Linked DNA regions of Homo sapiens: regions 1, 2, 3, 5 and 6 are each linked to region 4. Evidence: promoter capture Hi-C in human tissues and cell types (Jung and others, 2019). All regions are on one chromosome and are shown on one strand. Each heading gives the region's core, a stretch centred on a gene start or on the middle of the fragment in contact. The rest is flanking DNA. Distances are from core to core; before and after follow the strand shown. Region 1 overlaps LINC02575 (long intergenic non-protein coding RNA 2575). Region 2 overlaps ADARB1 (adenosine deaminase RNA specific B1). Region 3 holds the start of COL18A1 (collagen type XVIII alpha 1 chain). Region 4 holds the start of ITGB2 (integrin subunit beta 2). Region 5 overlaps POFUT2 (protein O-fucosyltransferase 2). Region 6 holds the start of KRTAP10-9 (keratin associated protein 10-9).

Region 1 (3,165 bases), core at 167-2,666, 430 kb after region 4:
AAACTCCGCCTTGGCCTGCCGCTACGTGGCCTGCCGCTACGTGGCCTGCCGCTACGTGGCCTGCCGCTACGTGGCCTGCCGGCGTGCCAGGGTCTGTGGGTGTGCTCTTCCGCCGGCATGCTCCACTGACGTCCTCTCCATGTCCAGCCGCTTTTCTTCTTCCCTTCCACTGATGTGTTTCTCTCAGCATCCGGCAGCTTCTATCTCTGCCTTGCTAGGGTCTCAGGGTTTTTATAGGCCCAGGATGGGGGCATGGCAGGCCAGGGTGATCTTGGAAAATGCAACATTTGGGTGAGAAGGAGAAAGTGCCTGCCCTCACCTAGGTCCGTGGGGGTGGAGCCCTAGCCAGGGACCACACCCTCTTCTACCCAGCACCTCCCTTCTGTATCATTTAAAGAGATGACACTCTTCCCTTCCCCGCACTCCTGTATCATTTCCCCTCTCTGAAAACGTACATCTAACTGCTATTAGAATATGGACGATGACCTGTCTTAGCTGCTTCCCGCTGACAGGGGGCGTTGTTTTTGAGAAAACGGCAGTCAAATTCCTCCCAGAGGTCTGTCTAAGGGTTCCTAGCAAAGGGGAGTCATTATCTGAGGCTCCAGTTGCCTGTCCACTTGGAGTTTGATGGTTCTAGGCATGAGAGAAAAAAAAAAACCCAGGTTTTATAAGGTTAAGTATGCATGGGTTAAACATGTGTGTTATAAAAAGAAAGAATGTACTCCCAAAGATCACAAAGATAAGAAGTGAAATATACTAACAGCAAAGTTGCACCCTGAGCTGTTTCACCCCTGGTGCAAGAAATTAAACCTTGTACAAGAGCAAATAAACTTTAGAATGAAGTAACTATTCTTGCCATATCTTTAGCAGTTAACAGGTGCACCCTGGGAATTCTGGGGTTTGTGGACGTACACGGTGGCCACTGAAGCTTTTGTCTCTTTCCTGTGTCTCCTCTCACTGTCCTGGGCCTCCGTCTCTATTATAAAAGACTGAGGTGGCCACTTTTAGGAGGTCCTCTAATGTACTATCTGGTCCAATGGCCCAGTTTTTGCAACTTCCTCCTGATGTCAGGAGCCGCCTGAGTAATAAAGTTATGCTTTGGGATTCACTGTCCCTCAACTGAACCAGGAGAGAGAGAGGTGAGCTTTACCAAGGCCTCTCTTAGCCTTTCCTAGAAGGCGATTGGATTTTCATCAAATTCCTGGTTGATCATGGACAACTTGTTCTTAGTCTTACGTAAGCCTTCTATTACGCACACCTGAAAGTGTCTCCTCCGCCCGGCTTCCATCTCATGATTGGGGTCCCATTTACGGTCATTCACTGGTACTGCTTCTCTTCCGGTTGGATAATATTCACCCCCTTTCCTGATGCTACATGTGATGCAAAGCTCATCCCCAAATCTCTCTGCAGCTTGTAGAGTGGCCTGTTTCTCAGTGTCTATCACAGTCTGATTCAAAAGTAACATAACGTCTCTCTCCAGGAGAGTTCAACTATTTGGTTGAAATTCTAGAAAGCCTCTATATACCTATGAGGATCATCTGAAAACTTGCCCAGATCCCCCCTTAATTTACTTTAAGTCCTGTAAGGAGAAGGGGACCTGGACCTTGCTGGCCCAAATTCACCAGGCATCTGTTGGAGGAGCAAGAGTGAGACTGGGGCTTGTTTAGAGTGAGAATTTGTAGGAGGGGCCAAGTGAGAGGCTGAAGCTGGATAGGGAGGTCGGGGTGGACCCAGAGGAGCAGGGCTTGAGGGAGCTGGCCTCTCTTTCCGGGGTGCCTCTAGGACTCGTATCTTTAATTCCCTGGGCTTACCCCTTGCAGCCTTCTCTGAGATGGCAAACAGGAGGGCTGGATGAATCCTACACTGTCGGCAAGGTCTGGATTTCCTTGCAAGGTATAGAAAGGCCCTGCACATACGGGGCCTCAGGCCATCTGTCCTCACATCTACAGAAAAGTCTCAACAGCCGAATGGTATGGAAATGAATGATTCCTTCCTAGGGCCAACCCAGTCCTTCATAATTTGGCCAAACCTTTGTGCAGAGGGCTCTGAGGTGTTTCTCCTGCAGATTCTGAGGGTCAAAGCAGTCCCGATGGTTCAGGGTACACTACAGAGGAGTATAAACTGGGGGTGTTGAAGAGAACTGGAGACAGTGAATAGAGAAGCCCCTCATTCTCTTCCTTCTTTCAGCGAAAACTCAGGGTGTGATGGAGAGAGAAAGCGAGCATGATCCTTTCAGTCTCCACTCCTTATCCCTGAGCCCTGGCGACCTTGGCAGGTGCCAGCCATGGGTACTAATGTGGTATGTACCCATGAAGCAGGGAAAACCTGGAGACTAGGAACGAACCGCCCTTGCCTATGCCTCCCTTTCTCCCTGCTGTCGGCAAACCTTCAGTTCCCTGGGCCTGTTTATGCCATGAAGCATGGCCTCCTTCCATAGGGTGGGGGGTTTAGTCAGCAGGAATTGGTGCTACCCATTTACATTGTGCCTGTTCCCTGGCTTTGGATCCCTCAGACCTGTTTTTTCTTTCTAAGACCTCAGCCTGAAGCTTGGAATCGAGTTTGGGACTGAAAAGATATTTTAGAGGCTGGTTCTATCTGTTGAGAGTGTCTCAAATGTGCCCTGCCAAATTTGCAGCTCTCCGCCAGCAGGGGTCGCTGGTCCTCTGCTAACTTCCCCATCAGAAACAGAGTTGGGAGGGGAGCCCTCTCACTTAGAAAAGGAAAAAAGATACAAAAATCAATTCAAGATGGATTAAAGACTTAAACGTTAGACCTAAAACCATAAAAACCCTAGAAGAAAACCTAGGCCCTACCATTCAGGACATAGGCATGGGCAAGGACTTCATGTCTAAAACACCAAAAGCAATGGCAACAAAAGCCAAAATTGACAAATGGGATCTAATTAAGCTAAAGAGCTTCTGCACAGCAAAAGAAACTACCATCAGAGGGAACAGGCAACCTACAAAATGGGAGAAAATTTTCACAACCTACTCATCTGACAAAGAGCTAATATCCAGAATCTACAATGAACTCAAACAAATGTACAAGAAAAAAACAACCCCATCAAAGAGTGGGCAAAGGACATGAACAGACACTTCTCAAAAGAAGATATTTATGCAGCCAAAAAAACACATGAAAAAATGCTCACCATCACCGACCATCAGA
Region 2 (3,326 bases), core at 82-2,581, 300 kb before region 4:
TATTTAAATTCCTTTAAAAGATAATTATTAAGATGAAAATAATAAGATGTGGATTTTTTTAACACATGCAAAAGTGTCTGAAAACAATACCACAAAGGTTGGGAATGGAAAAACGAAAGTATCCTGTTGTAAGGTTCTTTTACTATATGTGAAGTAGTATAATATCACTTGAAGGGAGATCGTGGTAAGAATGCATACTATAAACCCTAAAAACCACCACCAAATTAACAAAAGTTACAGCTCAAAAGTCAAGAAGGAGTCAAAATGGAATCATCAAACACACCCAATTAAGGCAAAAGCAGTAAGAAAATGAGGAAAAAGTGAACAAAGAACATATGAAACACGTAGAAAATAAGTAGCAAGATGAAATTTAAACCTAATAATATCAATAATCACAATAAATGTAAATGGTCTAAGTACCTCAGTGAAAAGGCAGAGATTGTCCATGGTGGGAGAGAGAAGCAAGATCCAAACATATAAATATATATAAATATATGTCTATAAGAAACATATTTTTAAGATAAAGTACTTTAATATAAAGGGATAGAAGATACACTGTGCTAACACTAATCAAAAGAAAGTTGAGGAGGTTATATTAATCTCAAAACAAATTTCAGAACAAACACTATTACCAGAAATAAAGAGGGTCATCATATAATGGTAAAGGAGGTCGGTTTATTAAGATAAACCAACAATCCTACATTTTTATGCATCTAATCACAGAGCTACAAAATACAGGAAGTAAAAACTCTAAAAAAGGGGAAGAAATAGATAATGTACAATTATAACTAAGAGATTTTCAATCCTGCCTCTCAATAACTGATAGACCAAGTAGAAGATCGGTAAGAATATAAAAGAAAATAAATAGTATAATCAAACAACTTGGCCTAATCAACATTTACAGATCACTCTACCCCAAAGTGGCAGATTCACATTCTTTCAAGTTTTGTGGAACACTTATAAAGATAGATCATATTCTGGTCCATAAAACCAAGTCTAATAAATTTAAAAGGACTGAAGTCATTAAATGAAACTAAAAAACCAACAACAGAAAGATCTCTGTAAAATCCCTAGTATTTTGAAACTAAATAGCAGACTTCTAAATAACCCAAGGGACAAAGTATTTTAATATAAGTGAAAATGAAAACATATCATAATTTTTAAATGCTACAAAAGCAGTAAAAAGGGTCTTAAAACAATGACCTCAACTAGCACCTTAAAAAACTACAAAAAGATGGGCAATTGAAACACCAGGTAAGCGGAAAAAAAAGAAATAATTAAAATCAGAGTAAAAATTATTGAAATATAAAACAAAAGACAAAAATCACTGAACCTAAAAGTTGGCACTTAGAGACAAACAGAATTGAAAAACTTCCAGCTAGACTGATCAGAAAAAAACAACCAAGAGAAGATACAAATCATCAATATAAGGGATAAGACGATATCATTAGAGATATCACAGATATTAAAATGAATATTCTGAATGCTTTTATGCCAATATATTAGACAAATTAGATGAAATGGACAAATTCCCTGAAAGACAAATTACTGAAGCTTACTCAAGAAAAAAGATAAAAACAGATAACATGAATAGCCCTAAATCTATTATAGAAAAATAAATTGTAGTTAGAATTTTCTTACAAAGCAAACTTCAGGCCCAATGGTTTCACTGGTGAATTTAACCATATATTTAAAGAAATAATACCAAATCCAAACAAACTCTTCCAGAAAACTGAAGAGAAAGAAATGCACCCCAACTCATTTTATGCCTGACAAAGACATTAAACTAAAATGATAGCCCAATATCCCTACAGACAAATATAAATACAAAAATTCTAAATGAAATTTTAGCAAACTGAATCCAACAATATATAAAAAGAATAGCACATAATAACCATATAACGTTTATCCCAAGATGCAAAGTTGGTTTAATTTTTTTTTAACGTCACCACTAGCAAACTGAAAAATGAACTAAATGCTCATCTCATTTTTTGTTGTTGTTGTTTCAGATGGGGTCTCACTACATTGCCCAGGATGGCCTCAAACTCCAGGGCTCAAGTGATCCTCCTGCCTTAGTTCCCAAGTAGCTGGGACTATAGGCCTAAGTCACTGCAATGACAACAGTCATCTAAGAGCAGAAAAAAAGCATCAGACAAAATCCAGCATACATTCTTGATTAAAAACGCTGAGTAAGCTATAAATAGAAAAAAAAAATGTCTTGAGCTGATAAAGACATCTGTAAAAAACCTACAGCAGCCAGATATGGTGGATCATTCCTATAATCTCAGCACTTTGGGAGACTGAGGCAGGCGGGTTGCTTGAGGCCAGGAGTTCAAGACCAATCTGGGCAACATAGGAAGACATTGTCTCTATAAAAAATTTAAAAATGAACCAGGCATGGTGGCATGCACCTGTAGTCCCAGCTACTCAGGAGGCTGAGACAGGAGGATCACTTGGGCCCAGGAGTTTCAGGTTACAATGAGCTATGATCACGTTACTGCACTCCAGCCTGGGTGAAAGAGTGAGACCTTGTCTCTAAAACAAAAAACAGCAATAAAAAATCCTACAGCCAACATCATACCTAATGGTGAAAGACTGAATGTGTTCCCCCAAGATGACATGTAAGAGAAGGATGTCTGCTGTCATCACTTCTACTCAACATTGTACTGGAGGTCCTAACCAGTGCAATAAGGATGTAGAACTGATGAGTGGACTATAAAATTGCTATGGAAATACAAAAAGGACCTAAGCAGCCAAGACAACTTTGAAAAAGTACAAAGTTGGAAGACTAACTCTACCTGACCTCAAAACTTATAATAAAACTATAGTAATCATGACAATGTAATACTGGCCTTTAGACAAAGAGATTAAAGGCAAACAACAGAGTCCAGAAACAGACCCACATGTATATATACATGCCAGCTGATTTTTGACAAGGGCACAAGGCAATTCCATGAAGAAATGAGGAACCTTTCACTAAATGGTGCTAAATCAACTGGATATCTTACATGCCAAAAAATGAACTTCAGTTCATCCTTCATACCCTACACAAACATGAACTCAAGTGAAATATAGTCTTAAATGTAAAAACTGCAACTGTAAAATTTCCAAGAATATAAGAAGAAATCTTTGTAGTACTGACTTAGGCAAATATTTCTTAGACATAATATCAAAAGCATGATCCATCAAAGAAAATTTCTATAAATTAGATTTTGTCAAAATTAAAATTATGTGGTTTGCGTAAGACACTATGAAGAGAATTAAAAGACAAGCCACTGATTGGGAGAAAGCATTTTTCAAATCATATATCTGATAAAGGATCTGTA
Region 3 (3,029 bases), core at 128-2,627, 480 kb before region 4:
GAGTTCACACAGTAAATGAGGAATTGTCTACGACTCAACAAGCAGGTGTTTTCAATACATCTACTTATAAGCTAGCTACTTTTTTGAAAGGTCTATGCTACTATTTAACCTGGTGACTAAGTCGATTGGAAACAATGAAACAAATTATTACAGGAATCCAGACGACATCCCTCCCTCCCCCTTTCCTGCTTCCTCACCCGCTGTAGCAAGCAGGTGTGGAGTCGAGTCGGAGGCAGGCGCTGGCTGCGTGGACCCCCGGGTGGGATTCCACCCGCGACAAGGCACCCAGGCCCTTTGGGCGGGGCTCCCCTGGGGTCCGCGTCCCCGCCGCCTCCCCCGGGCCTCTGCTGGGCTGGCTGGAGGCAGGAGGCCCCGGTTAGCAGGTGGTGGGGAACTGGGTCCCGGGGTTGGAGGCAGGAAGGTCCCCACGGGCCCCGCGCACCGTTTGCCGCGCACGGGAAGCGGCGAGGCCGGCGGGGCAGCGGCTTCTGGGCATTGTTCTCGGACCGCGCGGCGCTCGGTTGGCATCAAAGGGGACCGCGCAACCCGACACCACGGCGGGCGCGGGGACAGAGGCCTGAGGGCGGCGGGGACAGAGGCGCACAAGGCCCGGCCCGCGGCGAGGAGCCTCAACAGGTTGGAAACGCGGAGACGACGCCCCGCGCTCCGCCGCCTTCCGCCCGCGGTCAGTCCCGGGACCCGGCGCTGCGGGGACGAGGCCGTGACGGCGACAGAGGCCGCGTCTCCCGAGACCCCGCGGCCCCGCCCCGAGCCCTCCCGGCACCGACGACCCCGCCGGCCGCGGAGGTTCGGTCCCCGCGCGGGGACTCCGGCCGCTCGCACCGCGCACCCCTCCCGGCCCGGACCCCGCGGGGAGAATGAATGGGCGGGACTCCGGCCACCCCGCCCCGCTCCGTCCGGCTCCGGCGCCTCCTGCGCGCGTGGGCAGGGCCGGGGCTGAACCCAGAGCGGCCGGGGCGGGGGTGAGGGAGCCGGGCGGGGACCCCAGCCAGGGCGGCGAGGCCGGCGGGCACCGGCGCGAACCTTCCCGTCCCGCCCGGGTCTTACCTGGCTCCGCGGAGGCCGCGCGGACCCCGAGCAGCAGGACCAGGGGCGCGAGCACGTCCAGGAGGCGCCGCCGCCGCGGCCATGGCCAGGGGCACCTGCGCGGGACAGGCACGGGTCAGACCCCGCAGGACCCCCGCGACCCCCGCAGGACCCGGCCGAGCCCCGCGACCCCCGCGACCCCCGCAGCCGCATCTTGGCGTCCCCCAACCCCTGCCCGCAGCCCCGGCCTCACCTCGGCGCCATGCTCTCCCCAGGACCGTCAGCGCCGCGGGATGCTGCCTCCTCCGCCGCGGTGCACCCGCTCGGACCGCCGCGCTGCAGCCGCCGCCGCTGGGAGGCCGGGCAGGGGGCGGGCAGGGGCCGGGCAGGGGCCGGGCAGGGGGCGGGGCGGGCGCGGGCAGGGGGCGGGCGCGGGGCGGGGCCGGGCAGGGGCCGGGCAGGGGGCGGAGCGACGAGCAGGGCAAGGCCCGGGGAGGGGAGAGGGGGGCGGGCGCCGCAGCGGACCTGCGGCTGCGAGGACGGGGCGGGCCGGGACCCGGGGGCGGCGGGGACGGGCGAGGACGGACGGGGACACGTCCCGCCCCGAGGGAACCGCCCGAGGCTGCGACCCAGCACAGGGCCCGGGGGCTGCCCCGCGAGGAAGCCCAGGTTTATGCGGAAGGTGAACACCGCTGCCCGCCGGGCTACGACCCCAGCCCCTGAGTCCGGTGGGGCAGCGGGAAGGGGGGAGATTTGAATAGAGTCACCGCGGGGGGGACGGGACGGAGGAGGAAGCCGGCACCTCCGGCCCGCAAGGCCCCTGCAGGGTCCTGCCCCGGCTGCACGGAGGGACGGACGCGAGACAGGAGGGGCGTGCGAGGGCCAGATCTGTCCCCAGGTCCCCCTGTTCCCAGGGCGCGGCCCAGCAGAGCCTCTTCCTCCCCAGTTCCCAGGCTCCTCCTCCCTCCCAGGTGAAAACCCTGTTTCTATTTCTTCAGGGCCAGCATCCTGAGCCCCACCTGCAGGCCCTGGGCGCTTTCCTCCTGGCAGCTGTGCCCCCACCCGACCGGACCGCTCCCTGCAACCAGAGAGCCCTCACACCAGCAACACCCCCCAGCCTGCTCCCTCCTCGTGTGCGCGAAACTCATGGCACTGGCTTGACGGCTTTCTCTGAAACCCTCTGATTCCGCCTGGCCCATCCACACTGTCCCTTCCCGGCCAGGGCTCATCTCCTATGCCTGGACCAAACAGCGTAGTCTCCAGTCTCCCTGATCTCCCCACACGTGGCCCCACCCATCCTCTGAAGCAGCCCCAGGAGGCAGCAGTGACTTCACACTTCTAGTGCCCGGCCCTCCCGGCCCTCCTCTCTGGGCTTGCTTGCCAGGGTCCTCCCAACCTGACTGCTGCCTCCCACCTCCTCTCCGCCCCTGGAGCTCTCCAGCCGCAGCCGCGGGGCCTGCTTGGGATTCTCCTCTGCTGGCATCATCCCTGCCTGCCTCAGCCTTCCCAGGCCCAATCCTGCCCGATCTCACCTCTTCCCGCCCAGCCACCTGGTCGGGTCCCGACCAGCATCTGCCTTCAAACCTGGAGTCCTTCCCTGAGTGCTTGCGGTGCACTGTGAGGAAGGAAATCAATGTAAAGGATTATGACCCACATTTTTTAAAAATAAAAAGATTAAGGAGAACAGCATAGAGTAGAAGTGGTCATCGCACACTTCTGCAAAACTTTTGTTTCTCAGGTGGATGGAGGAGTGAGTCTGTGTGTGTCTATCAGGGTTTGGTGGTGTCTCTGCAGTGCAGTGGGTGTGTCTGTGTGTCTGCTGTGTGTGTGTCTGTGACCGTACCTTGTGTGCATGTGTGTGCATGTCTCTCTGTGCTGTGTGTGTGCATGTGTGTGTTTCTGTAACTATGTACAGTGTGTGCATGTGTGTCAGCCTGTGTGCGTGTGAGTGTGTGTCAGGGGTGTTCATGTGTCCTGGGTCC
Region 4 (3,264 bases), core at 716-3,215:
TTGTCTCTTTATTTCTAAAACCCAACGCAAGACCTTGTTGATTTAAAACAAGAAAATGTAACCCATTCACAGGTGCTGTGATTCCTGATGGGTTTGAAATTATTCCCAATGTTTTATTGTTTGGTTTTTATTTACCTTTCTTGTTTGTTCTATTTTCCCTTACTTTTTTCTTTTAAAGGATTTGCCTTTTTTTTTTTTTTTTTTTCTCAGTTACCCAGACTGGAGTGCAGTGGTGTAAGCATGGTTCACCGTAGCCTCAACCTCTTGGGCTCAAGCAATTCTCCCACCTCAGCCTCCCAAGTAGCCTGGACCATATCGCGTGCTACCATGCCTGGCGAATTCTTAGAAAATTTTTTTGTAGAGATGAGGGTCTGGGTCTCCAAATGTTGCCTAGGCTGGTCTCGAACTCCTGGGCTCAAGTGATCCTCCCACCTCGGCCTCCCAAAGTGCTGGGATTACAAGTTTGAGCCACCATGCCCAAAATAAAGATTTGTCATATTTTTTTTCAGGTATATACATGCTATTTTTATTCTTAAGGAGACTCTTGAATTGTTAGCATATATACTTAGATATTTTCTATCAAAATGCCCACTGACAAGCATCTATATTCCTCCCCAGATAGGATGGAACGGCAATGTGCTCCCTGGCCCCTCCCAACCCAGTCCTCTAGGCGTTTTGTTTCACAGCGTTAATATTCTTACCACTATTTTTTAAATCAACAGGTTATGACATCATAATTTTTACTTATTTCTTTGCCCAACTTTGTATCATCTGCTCTTGTATTTCTCATGGATTTCTTCATGTCTATTTCTGCAAGACATCTTTAAAACAGAGTTTAGGAGCCGGGAGCCATGGCTCACGCCAGTAATCCCAGCACTTTGGAAGGCAGAGGTGGATGGATCACTTGAAGCCAGGAGTTCAAGACCAGCCTGGTCAACATAGTGAAACCCTGTCTCTACTAAGAATACAAAAATTACCCAGGCGTGGTGGTACATGTGCCTGTAATCCCAGCTACTTGGGAGGCTGAGGCAGGAGAATTGCTTGAACCCGGGAGGCAGAGGTTGCAGTGAGCTGAGATCACGCCACTGCACTCCAGCCTGGGTGACAAAAGCAAAACTCTGTCTCAAAAAAAACTGAAAACATAAAAATAAATAAATAAATAAAACAGAGTTTAGGGTAGTAATGTGTCTGAGTCCTTGCTCTGAAGATGTCTGATTTGGGTTTTTTTTCTAGGTATAATCTCTTTCCCTCCTCTTCCTCCTCCTCCTCCTCTCCCTTCTCTCTCTCTCTGAGCCTGTAGTATTTTCCCTTTCGTGTTCTGTGGTATCCTCCTAATGTCCCTAGTTAACAGGACCTCATCCATCCATCCCTGGGGTGTTCAGTGGCCTCGCAATCCACGTCCCCGCCCAGATCCGCAGCCTTCCTCCTGTGACCTGAGTGTCTCCTCCTCGCTGTCCCTGTTCTGTCCCCTCCCGCCCTCACATGCAGGTGGATGTCAATGCGTGCACGCACCCAGGTTTTCTTGCCTGTTCCCACCTCTTTATCCTCCTTGGCTGGTTCCTCCGCTCCATTCTCTGGCTCAGGAATTTGCTCCCCAGGGTTTTTCATTCCGCTCTGTAGCAGAATGTGCTACTGTTGCTTTCCAGCATCAAACTTTTCACTCCCATGGCCTCTGTGTTCTTCTTCCTAATGGGTGCCCTTTCTGCCTGGCGCTCCTGGAGGCCGGGCCCCTCTCCCAAGTGTGAATCTGATGGAAGCAGGTCCTTCTCGCCGGGACCTCATGTGAGAAATGACATGTCCCACCTGTCTCAAGGGGCCGCTCTCTGACATCAGAGCTGCTGTAGAGCGGAGAGGGGCAGGGGTGAAGGGCCACGGTGGTGCAACCCACCACTTCCTCCAAGGAGGAGCTGAGAGGAACAGGAAGTGTCAGGACTTTACGACCCGCGCCTCCAGCTGAGGTTTCTAGACGTGACCCAGGGCAGACTGGTAGCAAAGCCCCCACGCCCAGCCAGGAGCACCGCCGAGGACTCCAGCACACCGAGGGTGAGTGTGCAGAGGCCCCGCTATGTCCACGGTGATTTTTGGAGGGAAGCACTCTCCTGCCCCAGCCTGGAGTGACCCTGGTGGCCCTGCTTATAGCCCCGGCCCAGGGGTGTCTGGCAGGAAGGGGTCTCCAGACCGTCTGCTCCAGGGTCCCCTTTGAGACCCGGCAAGGGGAAGTGCCTGCCACCAAGAGCAGAGCCACATGGTGTGCTGGGAGCGCTTGCGGCTGAGGATGGGGCCGGCATGGGAGGACAAGGGGCTGTGAGGCCGGCAAGGCCAGGAAGAGGCTGGGCCCACAAGCCCCTAGGGGGACGGCTGGGGGGTCCTGGTGCTCCGGGCTGGGCAGGAGGCAGGTTCCCGGGGCCTCCTCTGTGAACCTGCTGCGCCTGCCTGTGTTAGGCCCTCCTGTCTGCATGCTGCCCCGCCTGGCTACAGCGATTCCATCTCCAGATCGACTCGCAGTGTGTGGTGTGTGATATGGTGTGGTGTGGTTCGTGGTGTGTAGTGTCGTGTGTGTAGTGTGGCATGGTGTGCATGTATGGTGCACGTGTGTGGCATAGCGTAGTGTGGTGTGTGTGTGTGCATGTATGGTGTGCGAGTGTGCGCATGTGATGTGGGGAGTCTGTTGTATGTACATGTATGGTGCACATGTGTAATGTAGTGTGGTGTGGTGTGGCACATGCTCCATGCTCCTCTGGGACCCTCGAGCTTCCCTGCCTCCTCCGTGGGGACCCCTGGGTGACGTCTTGCTGTAGGGGAGCGGGCACCGCTGTGCGATTCTGGTCGAGTTGGTTCAGCTGGTGACCCTGGCCTCCCCACAACAGGCTCCTGGAGGCCATTCCCAAGGTCCTGGTGGGAGGGGGATTGAAGCCACGCCCCTGGGTCCCAGGCCCACCTGGCCCCCTTCCCCCAACACTGCACTCTTGGGGCCAGCCCTCCCCATGCATCCTCCACCCCTGGCACCACCCCTTGCACCACCGTCCCCACACCCAATCCCCCCTCCCCTGGATCTGGGAGCTGGGATTCTGCCCTGCTGTCCCTGTCCATCCGGGGCCCCTCTCCTCTGTCAGTTCCTGGGTGGGGAGAAGGAGGGGTGGCATGGCTGCAATGGGGAAGGGGGGGGATGGCCGGAGAGCTCAGCCTGGGAGCGAGCTGTGGGGGCATAGGGGACACTCGCTGTCACTCGCCTTCCCCGTGACGGTGGCGCAACGCCTGCGGGTT
Region 5 (3,184 bases), core at 574-3,073, 350 kb before region 4:
GATGACCTGTCCAGTGCTGTCAGTGGAGTATTGAAGTCCCCACTTATGTTGTATTGCTGTCTATCTCATTTTTTAGGTCTAGTAGTAATTGTTTTATAAATTTGGTAGCTCCAGTGTTAGGTGCATGTATAATTAGGATTGTGGCATTCTCCCGTTGGACTGATCCTTTTATCATTATATAATGTTCCTCCATCTTTTTTAACTGTTGTTGCTTTAAAGTCTGTTTTGTCTGATATAAGAATACTACTGTACTCGCTTTTGGTGTCCATTTGCATGGAGTATCTTTTTCCACCCCTTTACCTTAAGTTTGTGTGAGTCCTTATGTGTTAGGTCAGTCTCTTGAAGACTTTTGCCTCACAGCTTTCAGGTGGATTTTTTTCCATTCTGCCATTCTGTTTCTCTTAAGTGGAGTCTCTAAGCCATTTACATTCAACTTTGGTATTGAGGTGTGAGGTACTGTATTCTATTCATCATACTAGTTGCTGCCTGAATACTCTGTTTTCTTTCTTTTTCATTGCGTTGTTTTATATGCCCTGTGAGATTTATGCTTTAAGAAGGTTCTATTTTGGCGTATTTTGAGGTTTTGTTTCAAGATTTAGAACTTCTTTAACATTTCTTGTAGAGCTGGCTTTGGGAGTGGTGAATTCTCTCAGCATTTGTTTGTCTGAAAAAGATGATCTCTCCTTCATTTATGAAGCTTAGTTTTGCTGGATATAAAATTCTTGGCTGATAATTACTTTGTTTGTGGAGGCTGAAGATAGGACCCCAGTCCCTTGTAGCTTGTAGGTTTCTGCTGAGAAATCTGCTGTGAATCTGATAGGTTTTCCTTTATAGGTTACCTGGTGCTTTTGGCTCACAGCTCTTAAGATTCTTTCCTTCATCTTGACTTTAGATAACCTGATGACTGTGTGCCTAGGAGATGATCTTTTTGTGATGAATTGCCCAGGTATTCTTTGAGCTTCCTGTATTTGGATGTCTAGATCTCTAGCAAGACCAGGTAAGTTTTCCTCAATTATTCCCTCAAATAAGTTTTCCAAACTTTTAGATTACTCTTCTTCCTCAGGAACACCAATTATCCTTAGGTTTGGTTGTTTAACATAATTCCAAATTTCTTGGAGGCTTTGTTCATTTTTTTTACTATTCTTTTTTCTTGTTTGTTGGATTGGGCTAATTTGAAAACCTTGTCTTCGAGCTCTGAAGCTCTTTCTTCTCCTGTTCTAGTCTATTATTGAAACTTTCCAGTGTATTTCGTTTCTTTAAGTGTGTCTTTCATTTCCAGAAGTTGCAATTGTTTTTCCTTTAAGATACCTAGTTATCTGGAGCATTTTTCATCCATATTGTTGTTGTTGTTTTTTTTTTAATTTCTTTAAGTTGGTTTTCACCTTTGTCTGGTATGTCCTTGAGTAGCTTAATAATGAACCTTCGGAATTCTTTATCTGGCAATTGAGAGATTTCTTCCTGGTTTGGATCCATTGCTGGGGAGCTACTATGATCTTTTGGGGGTACTATAGAACCTTGTTTTGTCATATTATCACAATTGCTTTTCTGCCTGCTTCTCATTTGGGCAGACTACTTCAGTGGAAAGATCTGGAACTCACGGGCTACTGTTCAGATTCTTTTATCCCACGGGGTGCTCTGTGGCGCTCTTCGCCTTCCCCTAGGGATGGGGCTCCCTGAGAGCTGGGCTGCAGTGATTGTTATTGCTCTTCTGGGTCTAGCCACCCAGTGGGGCTACCAGGCCCTGGGATGCTGCTGGGGAATGTCTGCGGAGAGTCCTGTGCTGTGATCCGTCTTCGGGTCTCCCAGCCATGGGTTCCAGCACCTGCTCTGCTGGAGGTGGCGGGGGAGTGAAGTGGACTCTGGGGGGGTCCTTGGTTGTAGTTTTGTTGAGTGCACTGGCTTTCTCGAATGCTGGTTATGCTGCAGTGAAGTTGTCACGTGGACAGACTCGGGACCTGTGGACAGCCAGGAGGTTGCAGGTGGTGGGATTAGCTGTTGCTTTCTCCTTCCTTGGAGCAGGGTTGTTGGTTAGAATTTGCTGTAGCCATTTGCGTTGGTGGCCTCCAGCCAGGAGGTGGCACTGTCAAGAGGGCAGCAGAGCATTCTGGCTCCCGGGGAGTTTGCAGCTGTGAGCTGCTTTGTCCACAGGATCCGTGAACTCTTTGTGGCACGTCCCTGCGGTGGTTCTCGGAGGAAAAGTTCACAGCGTGAGCCTCCACATGCTGTTCTCTTTTTAAATATTTTTCTTTACCTCAGATAAAATGATTTCTGGTAATTAATACTGCTTCACTGTCTTCTTAGAAAGACATCTGGTCGCCCCCGAGATTCCACCTGAATCCCTTAGACAGCCCTGGAGCCACCCCGTGGAGGAGGCCACATGGAAAGGGTCATCCCTCTGCGTCTCGAGTCCCACCCGGTGCCCAGGATGAGCCCCGAGCCCGCCTGTCAGCTTCTGCATTTCCTTGTGGTTCTTTGCTAGGTCAAGCTGGGCTCCGCGCTAGGGGGCCCCTACCTGGGAGTCCACCTGAGAAGAAAAGATTTCATCTGGGGTCACAGACAGGATGTACCCAGTCTGGAAGGGGCCGTGAGGAAGATCCGCAGCCTCATGAAGACCCACCGGCTGGACAAGGTGTTTGTGGCCACAGATGCCGTCAGAAAGGGTATGGAGCTTCAATGCTTTCGTTTCTTTCCTTTCTTTTAATTTATTTTTTTTATTGATAATTCTTGGGTGTTTCTCACAGACGGGGATTTTGGCAGGGTCATGGAACAATAGTGGAGGGAAGGTCAGCAGATAAACAAGTGAACAAAGGTCTCTGGTTTTCCTAGGCAGAGGACCCTGCGGCCTTCCGCAGTGTTTGTGTCCCTGATTACTTGAGATTAGGGATTGGTGATGACTCTTAACGAGCATGCTGCCTTCAAGCGTCTGTTTAACAAAGCACATCTTGTACCGCCCTTAATCCATTTAACCCTGAGTGGACACAGCACATGTTTCAGAGAGCACAGGGTTGGGGGTAAGGTCACAGATCAACAGGATCCCAAGGCAGAAGAATTTTTCTTAGTGCAGAACAAAATGAAAAGTCTCCCATGTCTACTTCTTTCTACACAGACACGGCAACCATCCGATTTCTCAATCTTTTCCCCACCTTTCCCGCCTTTCTATTCCACAAAGCCGCCATTGTCATCC
Region 6 (3,127 bases), core at 312-2,811, 290 kb after region 4:
TACCCACAGTGAGTGGGGCATTAGCCTGAGTCACGTGGTGTCTGTGGGACTCAGCCAGTGAACAAGGCTTTTGGGCCCCACAGGACCTGGGAGGGGAGCCGGACAGCAGAACGTGCCACGAGGTGGACAGGAGCTTCCAGGTGTCACACAAGAGCCCCCCGAGGCCCCCCAGCTGGGGAAGTAAAGAGATCCACGGGGCCCAGCCCCCCAGAGCCAGGCCAGGCCCCACTCTGCCCCCTCCCGCCCTGGGTGCGGAGAGTCAGCACGGAGTCAGCTGGGGCCGCAGACGCTTTATTGGTGCTCAGGGGCAGAGGGTGACGCTGCTGGGGGTGAGACCCGGGTCAGGAGGGCCCGTCCCCAACCAGCGACCAGCGGAGGGTTGTGGTCTGCAGCCAGGAAGCACCGTGAGGAGAAGCCAGGGCTCGCCTGCCCGGGGGGGAGGTCAGGGAGGAGCCAGTGAGCATCTGAGACCCCGGGGCTGGGCGGCTGTGGCTGGGGCTGCTCCTTCTGTGTTGAGCTGTGCTGAGGCTGGGTGGGCTGGGAGGTCCAAGGACTGGCAGGGAGGTGGGGCCTGAGCCCGGCTGGCCCTGGGGGACATGACCGTCAGCAGCTGGACTTCTGGCCTGAGGAGAAGCTGTAGCAGGCCGGGCGGGAGCACACAGGGCGGCAGAGAAGGGACACACAGGAGGCCTGGCGGCAATAGCTGGGCTGGCGGGAGGAGGTGGGGGCACAGCAGGAGGAGACGGGCACGCAGCAGGCGGGCCTGCACACAGGGCGGCAGAGGAGGGACACAGAGGAGGAGGGTCTGCAGCAGGAGGTGGTGCAGCAAGCCGGCTGGCAGCCAGACTGCTGGCAGCACAAAGAGGAAGCCCCAGAGCAGACAGGCACACAGCAGATGGGTTTGCAGCAGACAGGCTTACAGCAGACAGGCACACAGTAGGACTGCTGGCAGGGGGAGGAAGTGCAGCAAGCTGGCTGGCAGCTAGACTGTTGGCAGCATGAATAGGAATCCTCAGAGCAGGTGGGCGCACAGCACACAGGTTTGCAGCAGACGGGCACACAGCAGGCCGGCTGGCAGGAGGAAGAGGCACAGCAAGCTGGCTGGTAGCTAGACTGTTGGCAGCACGAAGAAGCCCCACAGCAGACGGGCACGCAGCACACAGGCTTGCAGCAGACGGGCACGCAGCAGGCCTGCTGGCAGGGGGAGGAGGTGCAGTAAGCCGGCTGGCAGCTAGACTGCTGGCAGCACGAGGGCGTGCAGGAGCTGGTGCAGCCTGATTGGCAGGGGCTGGGCTCACAGGTCACCTGGCAGCAGGGGCTGGATACACGGCTCACTGGGGTGCAGACCAGGGTCAGGCAGGGGGCCGGGGCGCAGCAGCTGGTGGCGCAGCAGGGGGGCTCACAGCAGCTCTCTGGGCAGTCGTCCACCTGCCAGGAGTCGGAGTAAGCGCTGGAGCGGATGGACATGGTGGACGCGGCCATGCTGGGGTGGGGAGGAGGTGAGCTGGGGGAGGTGTAAGTGAGTGTGTGAGTGTGTCAGTGAGTGAGTTTGTGAGTGTGTGAGGTTCTTGGGGCTCTCAGGCTTTTATACCCCTCCTGGCCTTGTTGTTCCAGGGCCCACAGCTTCCCCTTCCTTGTTGCTGAGAGGCGGCGTCTGCCATGATTAGGGATGTTTGTTTGCTGGTGACATTGCCCAGCTCACAAATCTCCTGTCACACCTGGGCTATAGTCTGTTGCATGTGGAACCTCAGGGGCAGGAGTTGGGGTGGGCCTGATCCCAGCTGGGTTCTGGAGGCAAGGACGGCTGTGGGCGTCTGGTGGGTGGGATGTGGGTGGGATGTGCCTGGGGCCATCTTTGGTTGCTGGGGCATCGTCCAGCCACTGGCCCCAGCAGCCTCAGGACACGGGCTTCCTCTGCAGGAAGCCGGCCCTTAGGAATTATTTCCTGTGGTGCAAACTCCTCCTCTAGTATGGTCCTTCCCCTGCTGTAGGACACAGGACTCGCCAATTTCTAATCCCCATGGCCTCTGTGCCTCCTGCCCTCTGTTCATTGCCCACCCTGTCCTTTGCTTGGGAGGCAGCAGGACTCTGTTCCAGGGCAGGGATCGTGGGCTCAGCCCACTCCTTGCTGAGGCACAATGGCAGCATCGTGGGCTGTGGTTTCGGGTTCTGAACCCGTGAAGTAGCTGTGCTAGGCAGCAGGCAGCCGCCAGCCCTCGCCACTGCTGGAGCCATCTCCTCCGTGTGCCCTGCACTGCAAGCATCTTTTTCTCACCAGCCCTGCCCACAGGCCCCATCACACACCCCCAGGTCAGCCACAGGCAACTCTCACGGCTGCATGATCTTTGATGATGAATTGTTATCACCACAGGGCATGATGAAGTCCCGAGCTTCTTGCCTTATAAAATGGCCCTGATCACTTTCCAGGAACATTGCTACCCAGCAGCTAATTATAATATTGATTGTGATTTCACATTTTTATTTAAAAATTCAAGTACACATACGCATATTTCATTATAAAGTAAGACGTATTACACGATGTTGAGTAGAACGTCTTTGTTGCTGTGAATCTGGCAAAGCTGGAAACGGCCTCTCATTCTAAAAATAATGCTAACATTCTGGGTCAGACCTGTCCCCACAGGGTTTCTAAAATAAGACAGAAGTTGACCAGCTATGGCCAGCTGCCACACCCCACCAGTGCTGCCCAGGTTGTAAGAAGGAGGCTGTGGAGGCAGGGGTGGCCCTTCAGTCTTACGCAAAGTGTGGTGTCCCAGGGAGAGAGTCCTCCAGCTACTGTCCCTGGGGGTGTCTCTAAAGTGGGTCCTCACTGAAGAGGCAGAAGCAGCTGGTAGAAGCACAGGATCACTGGAGCAGCCGGAGAGAAGGTGCAGCAGTGGCCAGTGAGCCCCACAGTGGTGGCCCTGCACATTCCTTCCCCCGTCCCCATCACTGAAGAAATTAGAGCCCAAAACAGGGAGAAGGGGAGCAAGGAAAGAGAGGCCATGCCGCTCCCCGCGGCCTTCCCCGAGGTCCACTCAGACTTGCATGTGGGAACGCTGGGGATAGGACTGGGTTTCAGACAGGATAGAAAAGTTTTGAACTGGTCCATTTTGGGCTATGGATTTGG

Evidence for each region. Contacts are between HindIII fragments. The study calls those that stand out against the background at their distance.
Region 1: a contact is called between a fragment that was not itself captured here and the fragment with the promoter of ITGB2 in region 4, in 2 of the 25 tissues and cell types used here (dorsolateral prefrontal cortex and lymphoblastoid cells).
Region 2: a contact is called between a fragment that was not itself captured here and the fragment with the promoter of ITGB2 in region 4, in 2 of the 25 tissues and cell types used here (IMR-90 fibroblasts and mesenchymal stem cells).
Region 3: the fragment with the promoter of COL18A1 here is called in contact with the fragment with the promoter of ITGB2 in region 4 in 4 of the 25 tissues and cell types used here (IMR-90 fibroblasts, heart right ventricle, neural progenitor cells and 1 more).
Region 5: a fragment that was not itself captured here is called in contact with the fragment with the promoter of ITGB2 in region 4 in 2 of the 25 tissues and cell types used here (IMR-90 fibroblasts and lymphoblastoid cells).
Region 6: the fragment with the promoter of KRTAP10-9 here is called in contact with the fragment with the promoter of ITGB2 in region 4 in 1 of the 25 tissues and cell types used here (mesendoderm cells).

Annotation. Positions count from the first base shown.
Region 1 is chr21:44,487,499-44,490,663 of GRCh38, reverse strand. It overlaps LINC02575 (long intergenic non-protein coding RNA 2575), which reads right to left. Exons shown (of 2, transcript NR_155204.1): 2 at 1-270. Among named protein-coding and RNA genes, the nearest start is that of LINC02575, 3.5 kb to the right of the region's middle. The HindIII fragment of the contact is 6,132 bases long and covers 1-3,165 here.
Region 2 is chr21:45,214,276-45,217,601 of GRCh38, reverse strand. The region is part of intron 9 of ADARB1 (adenosine deaminase RNA specific B1); the gene reads right to left. Among named protein-coding and RNA genes, the nearest start is that of LINC00334, 18 kb to the left of the region's middle. The HindIII fragment of the contact is 3,297 bases long and covers 1-2,979 here.
Region 3 is chr21:45,403,513-45,406,541 of GRCh38, reverse strand. COL18A1 (collagen type XVIII alpha 1 chain) reads right to left here and starts at 1,377. Exons shown (of 42, transcript NM_001379500.1): 1 at 1,301-1,377; 2 at 1,069-1,163. The coding sequence starts at 1,311. It overlaps BNAT1 (breast cancer associated ESR1 regulating natural antisense transcript 1), which reads left to right and starts at 180. Exons shown (of 2, transcript NR_183526.1): 1 at 180-375; 2 at 2,046-2,736. RefSeq lists an enhancer at 1,522-2,222. The HindIII fragment of the contact is 38,297 bases long and covers 1-3,029 here.
Region 4 is chr21:44,919,600-44,922,863 of GRCh38, reverse strand. It overlaps ITGB2 (integrin subunit beta 2), which reads left to right and starts at 1,965. Exons shown (of 16, transcript NM_000211.5): 1 at 1,965-2,043. It overlaps ITGB2-AS1 (ITGB2 antisense RNA 1), which reads right to left and starts at 1,829. Exons shown (of 3, transcript NR_038316.1): 1 at 1,537-1,829. The HindIII fragment of the contact is 46,650 bases long and covers 1-3,264 here.
Region 5 is chr21:45,269,315-45,272,498 of GRCh38, reverse strand. POFUT2 (protein O-fucosyltransferase 2) reads left to right here. Exons shown (of 9, transcript NM_133635.6): 7 at 2,480-2,660. Among named protein-coding and RNA genes, the nearest start is that of POFUT2, 17 kb to the left of the region's middle. The HindIII fragment of the contact is 5,405 bases long and covers 1-3,184 here.
Region 6 is chr21:44,625,527-44,628,653 of GRCh38, reverse strand. KRTAP10-9 (keratin associated protein 10-9) reads right to left here and starts at 1,561. Exons shown (of 1, transcript NM_198690.3): 1 at 276-1,561. The coding sequence starts at 1,482. The coding sequence ends at 604. All of the region lies in intron 1 of TSPEAR (thrombospondin type laminin G domain and EAR repeats), which reads left to right. RefSeq lists an enhancer at 1,941-2,636. The HindIII fragment of the contact is 22,066 bases long and covers 1-3,127 here.